Regions from separate parts of the Homo sapiens genome. Here all the other regions are linked to region 1. The links are contacts of gene promoters, found by promoter capture Hi-C in blood cells and fetal thymus (Javierre and others, 2016). All regions are on one chromosome and are shown on one strand. Each heading gives the region's core, a stretch centred on a gene start or on the middle of the fragment in contact. The rest is flanking DNA. Distances are from core to core; before and after follow the strand shown.

Region 1 (2,875 bases), core at 130-2,629:
GACTTGGCGTGAAAAGAAATGTCAAGGTTCATAGATATCCTCTACACCCATTCACAATCTCCCATTTTCTGAGTATTCAAGGCCTCTGGTTTCTCTAATCCCTTTCTTCAAGTCTTGGCAAGATGCATTTTTTTTCCTCTTTGGTAAGACGCCTTTGATATTCTTCAAATCTGGTTTCACCAGCACAGAACTTTGACGTTTCGTTTTGCTTTGTCTCTGGAAGACAAACTCCCTCACTCATCCACGCGACATTTCAAGTCCCTCAAAATTCCCAGGGACAAGAAAACTAGGTACTATGAATTCTGCCTTCCAAACAGCATTCTCTGTTCTGCTTGCAAGGTCGATATAAAGGCAGGATTTGCTTGGGCAGAACAAGTCAAAAGCTTATTGAATTGCACTTATTGAATTGAACATGGAACACAGCCGGCTTGCTCTCTTATAGCGAGAGGCCATGCGAGTTGGTGGGTCAAGGGCATGCATTTCAAAGTGATCAGTCACTATACGTTGGCCACATGGAGTCGCAGTATTTTGGCAATATTTTTAAAAACCAGGGAAAGTTACTGTGCTGTTACAATCCAAAGGCTGGTGGGGTTTTCTTCCACCCCGCATTTCCACTAGCGTGATAAATTATTTAAAGTACGTGGCCTAGTAGAGGACTAACCTCTGGGTAACATAAGCCTAGTCTTCGCAGCGTACCCACTGTGGAAACAAACGAATCAGACGTTACTAATTGTGGAATGTTAAAAGTAGGCCCCGATCGGCTTTTACTCCCTTTGGAAAATCCTACACAATTCTGCGCGCGAAAGACCCACCCTCGGTGAGGCGGTGAGGCGCGAACGCCGCGAAGCTCACAGTCAAAGCCTCGCTGACAAATCAAGAGATGACTCCGCATTTAAAACCTTCCCGAATAGGAACGCGCCAGAGGCCGGAAGCCACGCCACGTGACCAGTCCTCCTCCGCGGCCATTCCTAGCGAGGCAGTAGGCACCGCCTCTGTCACATTTCCTAGCTCCTAAAGCGCGGGACCAGGCGGAAACGTGCGACAGGAGGCGGTCCCACCTAGCTTTGGACTGGAGTGTCAGTAGAACTCCCGTCTTTTCCAGCAACGCTTTGCAAGTTCTTCACCGCAAAGAACTGCCGCAGACTTCCGCCTGGGTGCCAACCACGTGATCACGCGAGCGTTGGAGAGGCGTAGGTCCGATTTCACTACTTCACTCCCCGGGCTCCGCCAGTCCAGTACCCGCCACGGCGCGTGACAACGCGGCTCGCCGGCGGCCTCCGCCCCGGCGCGCCTGCGCACGCGGCTCTCGCGGTGTCTCGCGCTCAGCCCCGCCCACCTCTGCCCCCGCCCTTTCCGCCCCTCCCTCCCCCTTCACCCTGTCTCTCGGCGGCGGCGGCGGCGGCGGTGGTGGCTCGCGCAGCTTGTTGGCTCGCTATATAAAGGAGAGAAGCGGGCGGACCGGACGGCTGGAGCTGCAGCCGGTGGCGGCAGCGGCGGCGCAGGGAGCGGTGACCGGTGGTGGTTTCCCTCCTTGGCGCGGGGTGGGGAGCGGGCAACGCCCCCCGGACCCCTGAAGGGTCGTGGCTTTTTTTTTTTTTTTAAGGCGATTCTCGAGGTTTTCAGCTGCGGGAGGAGTGCCCCCCTCCTCCTCCTCTCTCCGCTCTCCCCTACTCCTTCAGGATTGATTTTGTTTAAAATTTTTTCCCCAATCTTGCGGTGATTTGGGTCACCCTCCGGGTGTTATAGTTTTTTTTTTTTTGGTTTTGTTTTTATCTTGTTTTCTTGGGGTTGCCCCCTCTTGTTTGTGTTGTGTGTGGAAATGGCGAACTCGGCAAATACAAACACCGTGGTAAGGACGTGGTTCGGTGGCCGGCGGGGGCTTCGTTCAGGCTGCAGCAACGGCCGGACCGGGCGGGGGCGGGGACGGCGGCGACTCCCGGCCTCGACTCTTCAGCCGCCCGCGCGGCCGCCGCCGCCGCCGCTTCCCGCCTCGGGCGGATCGGGCCGGAGCGCCGGGCGGCGGGCGCGGGGGGGCGCCGAGGGCTCGCGGCGCGGGGAGGGCGGGGGCGCCGGTGGGGCCTGGGGCCGCCGCGGGCCGGGCCGGGCCGCGGAGGCGGTTGGGCCCGGTCGGGCGCGCAGCCCCGGCCCCAGAACCCGGCCGCCGGGAGGGAGGGCGGGAGGGGAGCCGCCGCTTCCCCCCGAGGGGCCCGTCCGCGCTGGCTTGACGAGGGCTCCCCGAGTGGCTACAGAACAAAAACTGTGTGTGGGGAATCGGGCGAACCCCCGAGACCCATCGTGATCCACTTTAATGCAGTGGAAGATTAATGGTTACTTTGGGGGTTTCTTAGGTTGTTTTTGGCGGCTGTGCTTTGGGAACCTTCTCTGAGGCCATTTTATGTTTAAAAAAAGGACGAAGGTTGGTTGAAAAGCACTTATCTCAGTTCCTTCCGAATGGGTAAAATGGCGAAGGGGAAGACCCCCATCGTATCTTCGCCTAGCAGAAGCACCAAAACAAACAAAAAAAGCCTGCAGTGGTCCAAGTGTCCCCGCTTTCGCCTTGAAATTTACCTACTTCTTCCCGTTGGTCCCTTTTTGTTACTTGCGATCACGTAGGTTTGCAAAAAGCAGTCACATAAATAACCTTTTCAGTCACCAACGCAGTGTGATCACTAGTCCACCCAACTCTTATTTTTATGATGACAATAAAACACGTTTTTTGCCCGGTCCCAAATGCCGCAGACCAGCCCGCGGCCGCCCGACACCGTACCGTTGGCGACTCGGGTCTAACCATCATGGCTGCGGCCGCTTACCCTGCTTTTCAGTCCCTGAGCCTTGTGGTCCTCCTCCCTTTGGCTGCCCTGTTTATATAGAGCCA
Region 2 (2,875 bases), core at 278-2,777, about 21 Mb after region 1:
TGATACTGCTTTCAAAGGCCTCTTGTGTTTTTGCACTGGGCCACTTCTTTTGATAGTTGTTCCTCTACTGCTGTGACTTGCAAGTCCTGTACTGGTGGAGTAGATGAACCAGGTCAGCATTTCTTACCTGGCACAAGGCTGTTTCCTTTTATCTTGCAGATCTGTAGTGCCCACTTTTTCATTTAATACAGTTGATGTTTCACGCTTAACTCTTTTGCCCATGAAGTCTTTTTACCTCTTCTATTTTCTATACTTGCTTGTTTTTCTTACTGATGTTACTTGTATTTCAAGGTTAGAGTCCAGGAAAATTAGTTTCAGTTGTTCTTTTGATGAACAGAAAGCCAATCACAAAGCAGCAGCATGTTTCTTGGTTGGGAATTTCAGGCATGTGTCCTTTTCCCTGTTTACCTCCAGGAATCCTTAGCCTCTGGAGAGAAGCTTCTATATGTCATTTGACTGTAGGACTCTGAGCTTCTTACTGATTTTAAGCACAAGTAGTTGTTTTGTGTGTAGAAGAGCAACTCATCTTTGTGAGCCTATCACAAAACAAAGGTACCTCTGTACTTCTAAAGAAATTGCTCTAAAATATTTGCTCTTTTCTAGTTTGTAGTATAATCTTGATTTCTATCAGAAATCAAATTGTAAAGTTAGACTGCATATTCAAGTTGCCATTCTACTTCCTGTGAGGCCAGCCAGCTTTTTGTCTGATATAACCACTAGTCCTCTTCCTGACCACCGAGAGGAACTTTCACAGGGCCACCCAGAAATGAGTTTGTTGCCAAGTCCTGTTGCAGGGTGGGTGTTAGTGGGAGTAGCAAGGAGCTTGACTGAACTATGGCATGACTTCCACACAAATTTTTGTCTTTATTTAGAGAATGGCAATTTAAAAGAAAAAGATATACTTGTTTTGCCCCTTGACCTGACCGACACTGGTTCCCATGAAGCGGCTACCAAAGCTGTTCTCCAGGAGTTTGGTAGAGTAAGTAGCATCTTATATTGATATAGTCTTGCTTTGAAGTAACTGCAGAAGAGATTCCCATCCGTGGTGCTGTCATACAAAGGGCTTTAGGCAAGTGGGGTCCATGCAGTGAGATCGGGCCCATGAGTTGGGCCCCTTAATCTCTGAGCCTTTGTCATTATGGAATTAGTACTTTTCATGTCTTAACAAGTACAAATTCCTCCATGTAGAACAAAAGAAGCTAAAAATTCACGGCTGCTTTTATTTATTTATTTATGTATTTTGAGACAAAGTCTTGCTCTGTCGCCCAGGCTGGAGTGCAGTGGTGTGATATCGGTTCACTGCAATCTCCGCCTCCCAGGTTTAAGGGATTCTCCTGCCTCAGCCTCCTGAGTAGCTGGGATTACAGGCATGCACCATCACGCCCAGCTAATTTTTATATTTTTTAGTAGAGATGGGGTTTCACCATGTTGGTCAGGCTGGTCTTGAACTCCTGACCTCATGGTCCACCCTCCTCAGCCTCCCAAAGTGCAGGGATTACAGGCTACTGTGCCCAGCTGGCTGCTTTTATTTATTTTAATGACAATTATTAACTTTCACAAAAAGTCACCTAAAACGGGAATTTAATTCCACAGGTAAATTCAGGGCTTTATTTTATCTTTTTAATTGCTGACTTCTGGAAATATACCATTGTTCCATTGATTCTTTAAGTTAACAAAATAACCAACCATCCATAGGAATTCCATCAATCTATCCACAAGACATCCCCCAAACACCCCTTTTCTGATTTTATTTAACTAGATCGACATTCTGGTCAACAATGGTGGAATGTCCCAGCGTTCTCTGTGCATGGATACCAGCTTGGATGTCTACAGAAAGCTAATAGAGCTTAACTACTTAGGGACGGTGTCCTTGACAAAATGTGTTCTGCCTCACATGATCGAGAGGAAGCAAGGAAAGATTGTTACTGTGAATAGCATCCTGGGTATCATATCTGTACCTCTTTCCATTGGATACTGTGCTAGCAAGCATGCTCTCCGGGTAAGGCTGCTCAAACTCAACTCTGATAGAACTGACTTAAATGTGTATATGGGGGATATGGCCATCACTGTGTGAGGTCCTTGGAACTGGAAGTGATGTGGGGAGACAGAGAGACCCAAGGAGACTTTTGGTAGAGGACACCCCCAGTAGATGCTAAAAAAGACTTGATCCACACATGCCTCTAACTTGTTGAACAAATAAATATGTATCAAGCACTGCATTGTGCCATGTACTACAACAGACCCTGGGGATATAAAGATAATAAGATGTGGTCTCTGCCCTCAAAAAGTGTATCATCTATTTAACATGTTACTCTTCACCTTATCCTTATTCCTACTAAATCTTCATGGAAAATTGGGGGTCCACTTCTCCTTTCTTCTACATACACTTCAGGATGTACTTTTTCCTCCCCATTTCTGTGACTTCTTTTCCTTGCCCCTTGTAGTTGGTGTTTATTTTGCCTGGTCTAATTATATATGCATGTCAGAAATAGGTACTTCCCACAGGATGATTAGTCCTGGTCTCATATCCTTACTGGGAAAAATCTTGACTGTATTCTCTCTGGTTTCATTGGAAGAAGAAAATCTAGTCAAGGCAGAGGCAAGGAGAGAAGCTTGATTTGGACTGCATAACTTACGATGTATAAATATTAGAAATGGATGAATTTTTAATGGTGGCTTAAGACTGGATATAAAGAAATTATAAGGCCAATAGGAAAAGAATGATTAAGGAAGACACAAAATTTATATTTAAAGCTGTTGAAGTCAGTTTAAGTAGAATGTTTCACTGTTGGAATCATGAGATGCAATAGCTACATGGTCATCATGGTTTCATGAAAATTTGAAGCTTTGGTTCTTTAGGACATCTTTTTTCTGC
Region 3 (2,875 bases), core at 207-2,706, about 21 Mb after region 1:
TGGATCACCTGAGATCAGGAGTTTGAGATCAGCCTGGCCAACATGGTGAAACCCCGTCTCTACTAAAAATACAAAAATTAGCCAGGTGTGGTGTCGGGAGCCTGTAATCCTAGCTACTTGGGAGGCTGAGGCAGGAGAATTGCTTGAACCCAGGAGGCAGAGGTTGCAGTGAGCTGAGATTGCGCCATTGCACTCCAGCCTGGGTGACAAGGTGAGACTCCATCTCAAAAATCAATCAATAAATAAATATAAAAATAGAAATAAAAATTAAGTTAGATAAACTTCCAATGAAATAAATTTTAAACAAAGGTAGTATGTGATAAAAACATCACTTCCAAATTATGTTAATACATTTTAATATTGTCTTTGTTCTTTAGGCAATTTACATGCATTGTGTCTGCATGGTGGAAATTCCCTATATGTAATTGTACATCTCTTCCCAATACCACATTTAGTGAGTTTTCTTTGGTAGCTTGATCAGCGGACACCACAGATGAGGGCTTCACTTATTGCTTTGCTGGTTGTGGGCTAGACCAGGGTTGTCCAATCTTTTGCTTCCCTCGGCCACATTGGCAGAAGAAAAATAGTCTTGGGCCACACATAAAATACGCTAACACTAATGATAGCTGATGAGCTAATACAAAACAAAACGAAACAAAATCACACACACACACAAAATCTCACATTTTAAGAAAGTTTACGAATTTGTGTTGGGCTGCATTCAAAGCCATCCTGGGCTGTATGCGGCCCACAGGCCCAGGGTTGGACAAGCTTGGTCTAGGCTTAAGTGACAGAGAAAATGTTTTATGCAGATTAAATGTAAAAGACATGTCGTGTCTATAACTGTTACATGGTGAATAGCATAAAAACATTCAATTTAGCAATGAAGTCACATCATTGACTAATAAGCTCTAACATACATTTTTGTTGTTTTATTTTTATCTTAAATGAAAATATTAACCAATAGCCATGTTGGAACTACATTTGGAAAGGTGGTTGTTAAACATTTCCCAGCACACACCTGGATCTGCATCTGCTGTGTCAATTGAACCACTCACTGGTTCTGTGACCTCAGGCAAGTCATTTAAATTATAAGCCTTGGTTTTATCCTCCACAGAATACTTCCTCCTAAAATGTGTTGTGAAAATTAGAATAGATGAAGGCACCCTTGAAAAGATGACTGATGCGGTTGGTTGCCCCACCACTTCCTACTACTTGGCAGAGCCTCCTCGTTGGCAGATCCTTCTCTCACTAGAGCATGTATATGGATGCATGCTCTCTCACCCTCCCTTGTAGCTTAGAGCAGAGCATACCAATCTATGTGCCAGCATACCCTGGTATGTCTCAGATGGGTCATAGATGTGATAAGGTATGGATCCCTTAAGCCCTTGGGACATTCAAGTGAGGCTGAGCTGCTGAAGCCCTGGGATGGTATGACTGGCCACAAGCAACATTACCCAGGTACCCCTCTGTGTCACAAAAACGTTATCTTTGTATTTGTGTCATGGTGTGAAAAAATTGAGAAGCACTGCCTGGGGACATAGTGAGGTAGCCCAATTCTGGATAAAGGAAATTGAGAAGTCTTGAGGGGGTAGAGAGGTTTTCTTCCCTAATAAGAAGAATCACAGGAGAGAAAATGCCTTCCTCAGCCATATGTTGTTATTTCTATATGTGAGCCTGGAATTTCAAGGTTATCTTGCAAAGAACCAAGGCAATGTAGAGAAAAGAATTGATAGCAAGTGGCTGGATCTTTCACATTGTAAAGCCATTGAGCCATCCGTGCAATTGCCCACCTTGGGAATTTATTTTTAAGAGTGATAATAAATGCTCCTCATTGTTTAAACTACTTTGATTTTTGTATTTGGTTATTCATAATTAAAAACACCCAAATACAGTAGAAGAACTGGTACATCCCTGACACCTAATGAGTGCTCAATATGGTTAGTTAATCACCAAATTAGATCCTTTGCCTTTAGAAAAGCTGCCATGGTCAAATGTGTGTTGATCTTATTTTTCGTAAATATTTAAGAAATTTGTTCAGTAACTAGCTTAACTTTTAATATTTATCTTGAGTCTCTTCTAAATATGTTTTTACTGTATAATAAAAGCAATAATTGAAAAATGACATCATTTTAAGCTTGAGAGCAACTAGATACAAAGATGTTGATATGCATTTTCTCTTCTTGAAGGATCTAGACAAACTGGAGCACCATTACATGAAAAAGGTTAAAGAATCAATGTTTTGCAAAATAGAACTGGAATTAATTCATGGGAATTACAGAGAAGATCATATTAGTTCAATATAAAAAGAGGGCCTAGAATGTGCCAAGCTCCATACAATGCCCCTCATGAGTGTTATTTAATTCTCACAACAACTTTGCAAAAAAGAAACTATTTTTTTTTCCATTTTACAAAGGAGGAAGCTAAGGCTGTGAAAAAGAGCTCTTTTGCAAGCCTAGGACCTGATTCCAAAATTCCCACTCTTTCTGTTGCAAATTCTGGCTAAGCTTTCCAGAGATGACTTGCTTTCCCCTTGAGGCCCTTTCAGTGCATTGTGCCATGGAAAACAAAAAGCCCAACAATGACATCTTTACCAAAGATGCCTTGGGGAGATGGGAGAAGAGTTACAATGCACATTACACAGCAAAATCTTTTTTAAGCTCCAAGTAAAATTGGTTTTTTCTTAGAGTTTTGCTTCCAGCAGTCACTTCCTCCATTCTCCTGCTCTCTCCACGTGAGGAAAACTTCTATCCTGCCTTCTCCTAATACACTTTCCTGTTTTTTTTTTCCTGCACATTTCTTAAAAATCCCACATAAGGCAAAAGCCAAGACAATATCCATCAACACCTCCACCCCCACCGCATGTCCATGGAGA

What was found. Contacts are between HindIII fragments. The CHiCAGO score rates a contact against its expected background, and 5 or more counts as called.
Region 2: a fragment that was not itself captured here is called in contact with the fragment with the promoter of GTF2A1 in region 1 in 1 of 17 cell types (activated CD4 T cells); the score reaches 9.1 in activated CD4 T cells.
Region 3: a contact is called between a fragment that was not itself captured here and the fragment with the promoter of GTF2A1 in region 1, in 1 of 17 cell types (total CD4 T cells). The highest score is 10.0, in total CD4 T cells.

Annotation. Positions count from the first base shown.
Region 1 is chr14:81,219,463-81,222,337 of GRCh38, reverse strand. It overlaps GTF2A1 (general transcription factor IIA subunit 1), which reads left to right and starts at 1,379. Exons shown (of 9, transcript NM_015859.4): 1 at 1,379-1,849. The coding sequence starts at 1,820. It overlaps GTF2A1-AS1 (GTF2A1 antisense RNA 1), which reads right to left and starts at 1,120. Exons shown (of 2, transcript NR_135252.1): 1 at 813-1,120; 2 at 1-699. RefSeq lists silencers at 1,215-1,514, 1,545-1,594, 2,125-2,244 and enhancers at 2,585-2,674, 2,715-2,784, 2,657-2,875. The HindIII fragment of the contact is 3,079 bases long and covers 386-2,875 here.
Region 2 is chr14:60,152,063-60,154,937 of GRCh38, reverse strand. DHRS7 (dehydrogenase/reductase 7) reads left to right here. Exons shown (of 7, transcript NM_016029.4): 3 at 873-979; 4 at 1,760-1,999. Among named protein-coding and RNA genes, the nearest start is that of DHRS7, 12 kb to the left of the region's middle. The HindIII fragment of the contact is 2,174 bases long and covers 441-2,614 here.
Region 3 is chr14:60,240,963-60,243,837 of GRCh38, reverse strand. LOC101927702 (a long non-coding RNA gene) reads left to right here. Exons shown (of 3, transcript NR_188027.1): 2 at 968-1,075. Among named protein-coding and RNA genes, the nearest start is that of PPM1A, 6.8 kb to the left of the region's middle. The HindIII fragment of the contact is 1,366 bases long and covers 774-2,139 here.